Regions from separate parts of the Homo sapiens genome. Here all the other regions are linked to region 2. Evidence: promoter capture Hi-C in human tissues and cell types (Jung and others, 2019). All regions are on one chromosome and are shown on one strand. The core of a region is centred on a gene start or on the middle of the fragment in contact, and the rest is flanking DNA. Distances in the headings are between cores, read along the strand shown.

Evidence for each region. Contacts are between HindIII fragments. The study calls those that stand out against the background at their distance.
Region 1: a contact is called between a fragment that was not itself captured here and the fragment with the promoter of ASB18 in region 2, in 3 of the 25 tissues and cell types used here (aorta, mesenchymal stem cells and spleen).
Region 3: a contact is called between a fragment that was not itself captured here and the fragment with the promoter of ASB18 in region 2, in 3 of the 25 tissues and cell types used here (dorsolateral prefrontal cortex, liver and spleen).

The regions. Positions count from the first base shown.
Region 1 is chr2:236,314,501-236,317,712 of GRCh38, forward strand. It overlaps a transcript of DRC11 not described here. Among named protein-coding and RNA genes, the nearest start is that of ASB18, 52 kb to the left of the region's middle. The HindIII fragment of the contact is 5,156 bases long and covers 1-3,212 here.
Region 2 is chr2:236,263,026-236,266,250 of GRCh38, forward strand. It overlaps ASB18 (ankyrin repeat and SOCS box containing 18), which reads right to left and starts at 1,381. Exons shown (of 6, transcript NM_212556.4): 1 at 1,116-1,381. The coding sequence starts at 1,320. The HindIII fragment of the contact is 6,526 bases long and covers 1-3,225 here.
Region 3 is chr2:236,217,190-236,220,637 of GRCh38, forward strand. All of the region lies in intron 3 of ASB18 (ankyrin repeat and SOCS box containing 18), which reads right to left. All of the region lies in intron 1 of LOC124908000 (a long non-coding RNA gene), which reads left to right. Among named protein-coding and RNA genes, the nearest start is that of ASB18, 45 kb to the right of the region's middle. The HindIII fragment of the contact is 3,997 bases long and covers 193-3,448 here.

The DNA.
Region 1 (3,212 bases), core at 513-3,012, 52 kb after region 2:
TGCAAACAAATAAATAAAACTGTAATTTTCCAAAGGCAATATGCCTATGGACGTTTAAAAACACCACAGAATCTAAAAACAAATAATTAAAATTAGATAATAAGTTTCACTTGTTGCTGGATATACAACCAATTCAAAAAGTAAATTTTATTTCTATATACCAGCAACAAACAGGTATAAAGTAAAACTTAAAAATGAAATTTATAACGGAAAATTATCAAATATCTAGAAGTGAATCTAAGGAAAGATGTGTAAGATATCTACACAGAAAATTACAAAACATCATTAAGAAAATTTAATGGCTAAAACAAGTGCTGGGAAATATCACTTTCATGGACTGGAAAACTCAATAATGTAAAGATGTCTGTTCTTCTCAAATTGATCTATAGATTCAATATAATTTACATTAAAATATTAGTTTTTTGGTGGAAATGCATAAGCTGATTATAAATTCCTTTAGAAGTGCAAAATGTCAAGCATATCTAAGACACTTTGGAGAAAAACAAGGTGGGATGACTTACTCTATGGATGCAAACCATTATTGTAAAGCTACAGTGCTCAAGTCAATGTGATATTGGCAGAATGATAGACAGATGCAGTAGATCAGAATAGAGGATTTGTAAGCAAATCACTGTCTACATAAACACTTGTTTTCATTGTTGTTGTTGTTTTTAAATACTTGTTTTCAATGATAGAGGGCACTGAAAAGCACTGGGAAAAGAACAGTCTTTTCAAGAAATGGTGCTGGAGCTTTGGGTCAATCACATATTCATATGGCTCTGAAATAAGACTTGAACCATGAACAAAAATCAATTCCAGGTAAACTCGCAGATATAAATGTGATAAGTGAAACAATAAAGCTTCTGAAAAGGGGAGAAATAGGAACGTTTTTACACCGTTGGTGGGAATGTGAATCAGTTCAACCATTGTGGAAGACACTGTGGCAATTCCTCAAAGATTAAGAACTGGAAATACCATTTGACCCAGCAATCCCGTTACTAGGTATATACCCAGAGGAATATAAATCATTCTATTATAAAGATACATGCATGTGTATGTTCATTGCAGCACTATTCACAATAGCAAAGACATGGACTCAACCCAAATGCCCATCAATAATAGATTGGATAAAGAAAATGTGGTACATATGCACAATGGAATACCATGTAGCCATAAAAAGGAATGAGATCATGTCCTTTGCAGGGACATGGATGAAGCTGGAAGCCATTATCCTCAGCAAACTAACGCAGGAACAGAAAACCAAACACCGCATATTCTCACAAGTGGCAGCTGAACAATGAGAACGTGGACACAAGAGGGGAACAACACACACTGGGGCCTGTCGGAGGGCGGCGGGTTTGGGAGAGCATTAGGGAAAAGAGGGAATGCATGCTGGGCTTAATACCTAAGTAATGGGTTGATAGATGCAGCAAACCACCATGGCACACATTTACCTATGTAACAAACCTGCACATCCTGCACATGTACCTGGAACTTAAAATAAAAGCTTCTGAAAGCTATTAGCAACAATAGTGTCATAATCTTGAGGTAGGCAAAGAACTCTTAACATAGGACACAAAAAAACTGTAACCACAAAGACAAAGTTGATAAGCCAAGTTTCCTTAACATTAAGAACTTATTTTCTTCTCTCTCTCTCTCTCTCTCTCTCTCTCTCTTTTTGAGATGGAGTCTCACTCTGTTGCCCAGGATGGAGTGCAATTGTGCGATCTTGGCTCACTGCAACCTCTGCCTCCTGGGTTCAAGTGATTCTCCTGCCTCAGCCTCCAGAGTAGCTGGGATTACAGGCACCCACCACCACGCCCAGATAATTTTTGTATTTTTAGTAGAGATAGGGTTTCACCATGTTGGTCAGGCTGCCCTCAAATTCCTGACCTCAGGTGATCCACCTGCCTTGGCCTCCCAAAGTGCTGGGATTACAGGCATGAGCCACCGCAAGAACTTTCATTAAAAGACACCATTATGACAGTGAGATGGAAGCTAAAGAGTGGGAGACAATATTCACAACCATGCACCTGCAAACAGCTTCTCACTAAAAGTATAAAATTAATAAGAAAGAAATAGACAACCCAATGGAAAAATAGACAACCAACTCAGCGGGTTTTATTAAAAAGTACGGTAATATTCAAGTGATCACTATGCATATGAAAAGATGTGCAACCCCAGTAGTCATTAGGAAAGAGGAAATTAAAACCATTGTGAGATACGACACACTCCAGAGTGGGGACAATGAAAACGCCTGACCACACCAAGTTGGAAGGATGTGGAGTAGTGGGAGTTTGCATGCATCGCTGGTGGCAGGGAAATTGGAGCAGCCAACGCAGTAAACTTGGTGGCACTGCGACCACATGTGATGATGCTCTGGGGCGAGCAGCTGTCTTCCCAGGCATATACAAACAGCAGTGTGTGCACATGTGTGCAGAGAGACAGACACAGATGTCCACAGCAGCATCATTCATAATAGCCGCAAACTGAAGAAAAAATCATAGGCGCTCAGCCGGGCGAGGTGGCTCACGCCTGTAATCCCAGCACTTTGGGAGGCCGAGGTGGGAGGATCACCTGAGGTCAGGAGATCGAGACCATCCTGGCCAACATGGTGAAACTCCGTCTCTACTAAAATACAAAAAATTAGCCGGGCATGGTGGTGCACACTTGTAGTCCCGGCTACTCAGGAGGCTGAGGCAGGGGAATCACTTGAACCTGGGAGACAGAGATTACAGTGAGCTGAGATCGCGCCACTGCACTCCTGCCTGGCGACAGAGTGAGATTCCATATCGGGGGAAAAAAAAAAAAAGATAGGCTCTCATTAACAGTAAAATAGGAAGCCTAAGTATGGCATCTACAAGGAGATACTACGCAGTGATGGAAGTGGACGAACTGCGACTGCCTGCAAGGCTGCAGGAGTCTCACAAGCTAATGTTGGCTAGAAGAAGCCCGACGGAAATGAATACACACTCTTTACTTCCATGTACATAAAGTTCAAACCCAGCTAAAAGTAACCTAGGATGCTGGAAATCAGGACAATAGTTGCCTTTGCAAATGGAGAGGGCAGTGATTAGGAGAAGGGCTTCTCAGGAGCTGGGAGCATCTCCACTTTACATTTTGCTAGTTGAGCCCTTTTCTGTGCTTGTGTCATAATTCAACAAAAGCATACATGTTTACACCCCTCATGGATATTTACATTTTTCTAAAGG
Region 2 (3,225 bases), core at 131-2,630:
CATGTACTTGCGTGTGCGTGTGTGCACCTATGTTGGGAGGGAGAATGGGGGTGGAAAGGAGCCCTCAGCATCCCTTAGAGGCCAAGACTAACCTTGTCCCCTAATCTGACAAGCTGGGAAACAGCACAATACAACTAAAAGTAAATCACAGGTCAGGAAAACACTTTCAGGAAACCTAACAAAGGGATGATGTCTATGTTACGTGAAGAAGTCCTACAAAATGATAAAAATGATTCCAAGAGATGGAGAGTTCCTGCCCAAGACCCAAATAGACAGGTCTTGCACCTGATGAGGCCTACAAAGAAAAAATCCTATGGACAAGACTTTGTCCAGACCTGCAAAGAAAGGATGGGCGACAGGCAGTGAAGAATTACCAGTGTGTGCTTATCAAATGGCAATTTAATACAAACATTCATTACCAGTGATGCTCCTTGGTGAGGTTGTGGTGAAACACATCACCTCACTGTCAGAGGGAACAGAAACCCTTGCGGAAAACAATTTGGAACCAATTTAGAAACAATACAATTTGAAAAAATGTTATGTTCTTGTTCCAGTTATATGGCTCCTAGGAATTTATGGTAAGGATATAATCCCAAAAAAGAAAAAAGCCGTATGAATCCTAATAAAGATGTTCGTTACAGCATTATTTATAGAAGCAAAAAGGTAACCAAATACTATCTTTTTGTAGGCATTTGGTTTAAGTATTTCAGTAGGGGATTGAAATTGGGAAGACTATGTAGCAACATGGAAAATGCTTTAGATTTAGATTTTGTAGATCTCAAGGGAGCAGAACACACAATTATGTGTATGATATGGTTATCAGTGGGTGAAATTTACACACGCAAATGGACAGGCTTGGAAAACAATGGAGCCACAGAGCAGCCACTGTGGTAGGATTAGTTTTTTTGTGTTGTGTTGCACTTGTTGCTTATGTCGCACACGCATGTACATGGTCTATGCAGTACACATATATGCATGTATGTATGAGAGTCAGATATCCGAGTACATATCATTTACTTTTTCCAAACATTTGCCCCTCTACCTCCAGGATCTGCCCACCCCATCAGTGTAACTTAGTAATTAAATCCCAGATGCAGCAGGCTCGTTCTGGTTACCTAGCAGCATGCCGGTGGGCAGCTGAGCCGAGGGGTCTTTCATCCAGTCGTCATTGGCCAGTTCTATCACAGCGTCCACAGGCGTGATTTCAGTGCAGATTAAATCCCTCACTCTCTCCTCATCTTTGGCATCCAGGGCAGACTTTAATCTCTTCACTAAATCTGAGTTGAGTGGGTAGTCGGGAAGGTAATCCGAGTTGGACATTGTTACGTCGTTTCTGCAGTGACCAGCCCTTCTTTTCTTCCTCTAAAGCGACTCCAAAGTCAGCAGCTGTCCGTGAGAGTGGCGTGGGGGCTGCTATAAATAGCAGCACCCTGGCTCCTCTTACAGTCCCTGCGGAGGGCCACCTGCCAGCAGGGAGGTGTGAAGTAATCTTTCCAGAGGCCTCAGCAAAGGATTATTCTAGAGATGGGGGCAGCAGACATGTTTGTGAGTGGTGCAAGAAGGAGAGACAATATTTTCAAAGACAGCTTTCATGGGTATTGTTGAATAATATCTTCTTTTATCAAAAGTGAGGCTCTCTCCTGAAACTTTGAAAACCTCTTCCTGGCACTGGGCTTGGACCTCTATTCTGTGGAAAGGAACATTTTCTAATATTCTACCCCTTGTGTTCCTTCACTTCCTCTAAAAGGAGCGTCTGGTCACCTGCAAATTGGACATGCCTCAAACGCATAGAATGGAATGGAATCTTTGGTTTCCAAATGCAGAGAAGGACTGGCTGATCTCAGGAAGACGGAAGCATCACAGAAAAACAAAAAAAAGTAACCTAAATATTACCTGTGACCTCCCTATGCCTCAAGGCTGGTAAACTTTGCTCAAAGCCTATAATTCCATGACTTGTGGAAGTGTGGAGCCCTCAGGGGGATTTCTGTGCACTCCTAGGGGCAAAGGTGGGGCTTTCTCTCCTTGACCTGTGTCTTCAGTGTGCTTGGGTCTCTGTGTGCCAACCTGTGCATAAGCACAGCTGTGCCTGAAGCTTCTCTGCTGATGCCAAGTGTGCTGTGGTCTCTGAGGGCCCAGGGCGGGCCGTGGAGCTTACAGGGCCTCCTTCGCCTTGCCTTCTATCTCGCCATCTTTTCCATTCCTTACTTTCTTTCTTCTCCCCTGTGCTTAATTTTATGTCTCAATTTGGCTAGGACCCCAGTGCCCAGAGACTTGGCCCAACACTAGTCTAGATGTTTCTATGAAGGTGTTTTTGGGATCAGATTAGAATTTCTTGAACCGGCAGACTTGGAGTGAAGCCGATGGCTCTCCCTAATGTGTGTGGGCCTCCATCAATCAGTTGAACGTCTGAATAGAACAAAAGACTGACTTTCCCTGAGCAAGAAGGAATTCTGGCGGCAGACAGCCTTTGGTCTCAACCTCAGGTCTTCCCTGGGTCTCCAGCCTATCAGCCCACCCTGCTGATGATGGATTTACCAAGTCTGCACAATAGTATGAGCCAATTCTTGAAGAGAAATTCTCTCTCTCTCCCTACATAACTGTTGGTTCTGTTCCTCTGGAGAACACTGACTAATACACCCTCTTCCTCCTTTCAGCTCATTTGTGTGATTTTCCAGCTTCTGTTCCATCTGCACTTGAGGTGCCAGGCACTGTAGTTCCTGCCCAACATCCATTCTCCTTCCACCTGCCCAACACAGCCTGGCTTTCTTGGTGGGGGCACTGTGCCCAGCCCCTGGGGATGAGTCATGTTGATTTAGGTCAGTAGTGTCAGTCCCAGTCTCCTTTGCCTGCACTCAATGTCCAGTCTCCCTTGCAACCCAGTTCTGGCTGCTGGGGTGAGTCTGGGAAGTTATGTGCTTTCCTGATCAAGAGGGACAGAAGTGACTGGCAACACCCTTTCCTGTTCTTGTTTCCTTGAACATGGACATGATATCTGGAGGTGCAGCAGCCACATCACAGCTGGGAGGCAACAGATATGAAATGAAGGATTAACACAGAAAGGAGAGTGGGATGGAAAGCGGGGGAGAGACTGGGGATGACATTTCTGAACCCCTGCCCCAGCTCTGGGGCCCCAGCCACCAGACCTCTTGTCTTTATGCCATAAGCACTTTCTGTGTGTTTTCTGTTACATACAACTGAAGGCATTCTTGGTTGATACAGGTAGTG
Region 3 (3,448 bases), core at 941-3,440, 45 kb before region 2:
CTGAGGTCAGGAGTTTGAGAACAGCCTGGCCAACATGGTGAAAACCCATCTCTACTAAAAATATAAAATTAGCCGGGCATAGTGGTGGATGCATGTAATCCCAGCCACTCGGGAGGCTGAGGCAGGAGAATCACTTAAACCCGGGAGGTGGAGGTTGCAGTGAGCCAAGATCGTGCCCCTGAACTCCATCCAGCCTGGGGGCAACAGAGCGAGACTCTGTCTCAAAAAAAAAAAAAAATAAATCTTGGCACCTTCAACTCCTTGGGTGTAGAAATGGAGGCTTTGTTTATCTCTGATTCCCAGTGCCTATCATAGTGCCTATCACACTATTGGTATTCCCTAAAAACATATTGAACAAACACATTCCATTAATTAACATCTTTCAGCTTTTCTTTATATTGCCGCTGCTTTTCCTACTATATTAACCTAACTGGGGCTCTGAACAAGATCATCCATTGAGGGTTTCCCGGCTGCCCTTAAATCCATTTATATTTTTACCTAGAGGCTCTCAGTATTTTAAATTCTCCCTTTGGATTGTCTCGTTTCTACATCAGCAGTGTCTTGAGAAGTGGTCTGTCTTGAGTGAAAGATCTTTACAAACAAGTACAGTTTGATGTGGAGTCCTTTGGGACCAGGACTGGCTAAGGGAGGATGCAAATTTTACAGTCAGAGCGCTTCACTTTGCTTCCTATTTGCTTCTCTGGGAGGAATTTTGAACAGTGCAGCAGGACGTTAGAAATCAAGGGTTCCTTCTCGTTTTGCCACTGAGCCTGTGTGCACTTGCAAACAATTACAAAACATTTTCTTCTTTTTAAAGAAAAAATTTTTTTAAGCAGCTCAGCCTCTCTAAAGAAGTCCACAGGGAAATATGACCAGTCCCCTTTTCCACGTGCACAGCCTATAGCTGGGTAATGGCCAGGCTTTTCCACGTGCACAGCCTAGCTGGCTAATGGCCAGGCTGCTATCTGCAACACAGATACCTTTCAGAGGAATGAGGACACTGGCCCACCCTCTGGAGGGCTGCAGATGCTCTTTTCATTTTTAATGAAGAGCTTCTAGTTGGCTAAACCTTGGCACTTTTTTAGAGTGGGCAATGATTTAAGTAGCAGAACCACGGGCATGGGAAAGAAACAACAAATTGACTGGGGCACGTCTGCTGGTACACGGTGGCAGTCATTAAAAATGAAGGTGTGAGAGCCTATTTAATGGCATGGAAATACATTTGCAGTGGATGTGAACAGATCAGGTTACAAAATAGCACCACTGTACAGTCCCATTTTGAAAAAGCTTAAATATATCTATGCGTATATGAAGAATACCAGAAATTGGCCGGATGTGGTGGTTCACGCCTGTAATTCCAGCACTTTGGGAGGCCAAGGCCGGCGGATTGCGAGGTCAGGAGATAGAGACCATCCTGGCTAACATGGTGAAACCCCGTCTCTACTAAAAATACAAAAAATTAGCTAGGTGTGGTGGTGGGTGCATGTAGTCTCAGCTACTGGGGAGGCTGAGGCAGGAGAATGGCGTGAACCTGGGAGGCGGAGCTTGCAGTGAGCCAAGATCACACCACTGCACTCTAGCCTGAGTGACAGAATGAGACTCCATCTCAAAAAAAAAAAAAAAAAAAGAAAAAGAAACCAGAAATTTTTCATTTTATTTTTTAATTGATTTTAATTTTAATTTTAATTAATTTTTTTAGAGACAGGGTCTTGCTCTATCATCTAGCCTGGAGTGCAGTGGCGTGATCATGGCTCACTGCAGCCCTGAACTTCTGGGCTCCAGCAATCCTCCTGCCTCAGTCTCCCAAGTAGCTGGGACTATAGCCGAGTGCCCCCATGCTTGGCTAATTTTTTTTTGTTTTATTTTTGTATTGACAGGGTCTTGCTATGTTTCCCAGGCTGCTCTCAAACTCCTGGGCTTAAGTGATCCTCCTACCTTGGCCTCTCAAAGTGTTGAGATTACAGGCATGAGCCACCGTGCCCTGCCAAAAAACCTAGAAATTTAGAGGGCAATGTGTGTTTATCTCTGGATGATGGGCATAGTGGGAGCTTGTTTCCTTTTTGCCTGCATGCGTTTTTCAAGTTATCCAAAATAAGTCAAGGTGCAGTTTGATACAAGAACCACAACAGAGGTTATTAATAACAAAACCATCCCCACCTGCTCCAGCAACAGCTCCTGGATCCTAAGAATATCCCTTTGGCTTTCCAGGTTCCCAGAATACGCTTGAAATTTCCATCAATCTGTTTAGGTATAAGCAGCATTTTGGAACGTATGTATGGCAATGCCCATGAGAAGGTGAGGAGAGGAGAGGCCTGGGCTGGCTGGGAGCTACTCAGTGATAACAATCGTGGGGACCTCTCAGACCTGACCCCAGGACCCAGGCCCATCCTTGAAACACTATCATTTCAATCCCTCCTATCAACGTCACCAGTGGAAGAAATGGCCCAGTGGGGAAAGCTTACTGTTTGTCATTTCATTGCCTTCTCTGTATCAATGCCACCAGTGGAAGAAGAAATAGCTCAGTAGGGAAAGCATCCCTGAAGCCTTTGCAGGTCTATGTCTGGGACCCAGCCTTGGCTGAGCCTTTTACTCCAAGGCAAGATTTTGTGAGTGGGTTTCCTGCTGTCCTGATAGAAAGGCAAAAGTCAGAAAGGCCTGGGGTCAGGGTAGAACAGTCACCGTTGGGATCTAAGGGTAGAATTCCCATCTGAGGATGTCAGAACAACTTTGTCTTTATCTTGCAAGGATTAAGGAGACACCATGTTGTCTCAACAGCTTCTGATATGAAGCAACTTGGACAAACACATTAATCTCTGGGTGCCTCATCTCTGTTTTCGATAATGACTGCAATGACAGGTTGTTACAGGGGCCCAGGGTTAACAGCAGAAAGAAAAAGTAACTTGAGCCAAAAGGCAGGAGTTAATAGAGATGAACCCATCAAGGACTGTTGAATCAATGTCATTCCAATTCATGTCTATGGGGTGGGGGGATGTGGGACTTTGGCCACTCCCTGCACACCCTCCCATCCACCCTCCAGCACCTTCCCAAAGCACTGGCTTTTCCTAGTCCCTTCCCAGGGCACAAGGCCTGGAGGCCTCAGCCTGGGCTCTCCCACTGTTTCCTCCTTCCTTTACCCACCTGTCTCACCCACCTGCTCCCACCTGTCTCAGCTGCCTGCCAAGCCTCCATGCTCCCTGCATGCTCTGCCCAGATACCTCTTCTCTCAGCCAGAGCCTGTCCAGGCTTCCACTCTCTCGTCTCCCCTGCCTCCTGATCACCCTCTTTATTCAAAGCCCTGGAAATGCTGCTTCTCTGCCTCCTGGTTCTGAACTGAAAGGTCTTTTGGATTCCCCAGTACTTGGCCTTTTTTTTTTTTTTTAAACAACTATTTATCTTTAGTCCCTGAAACAACTTTGCATTGTAGGTGGAATTTACAGTTGGGGAAATT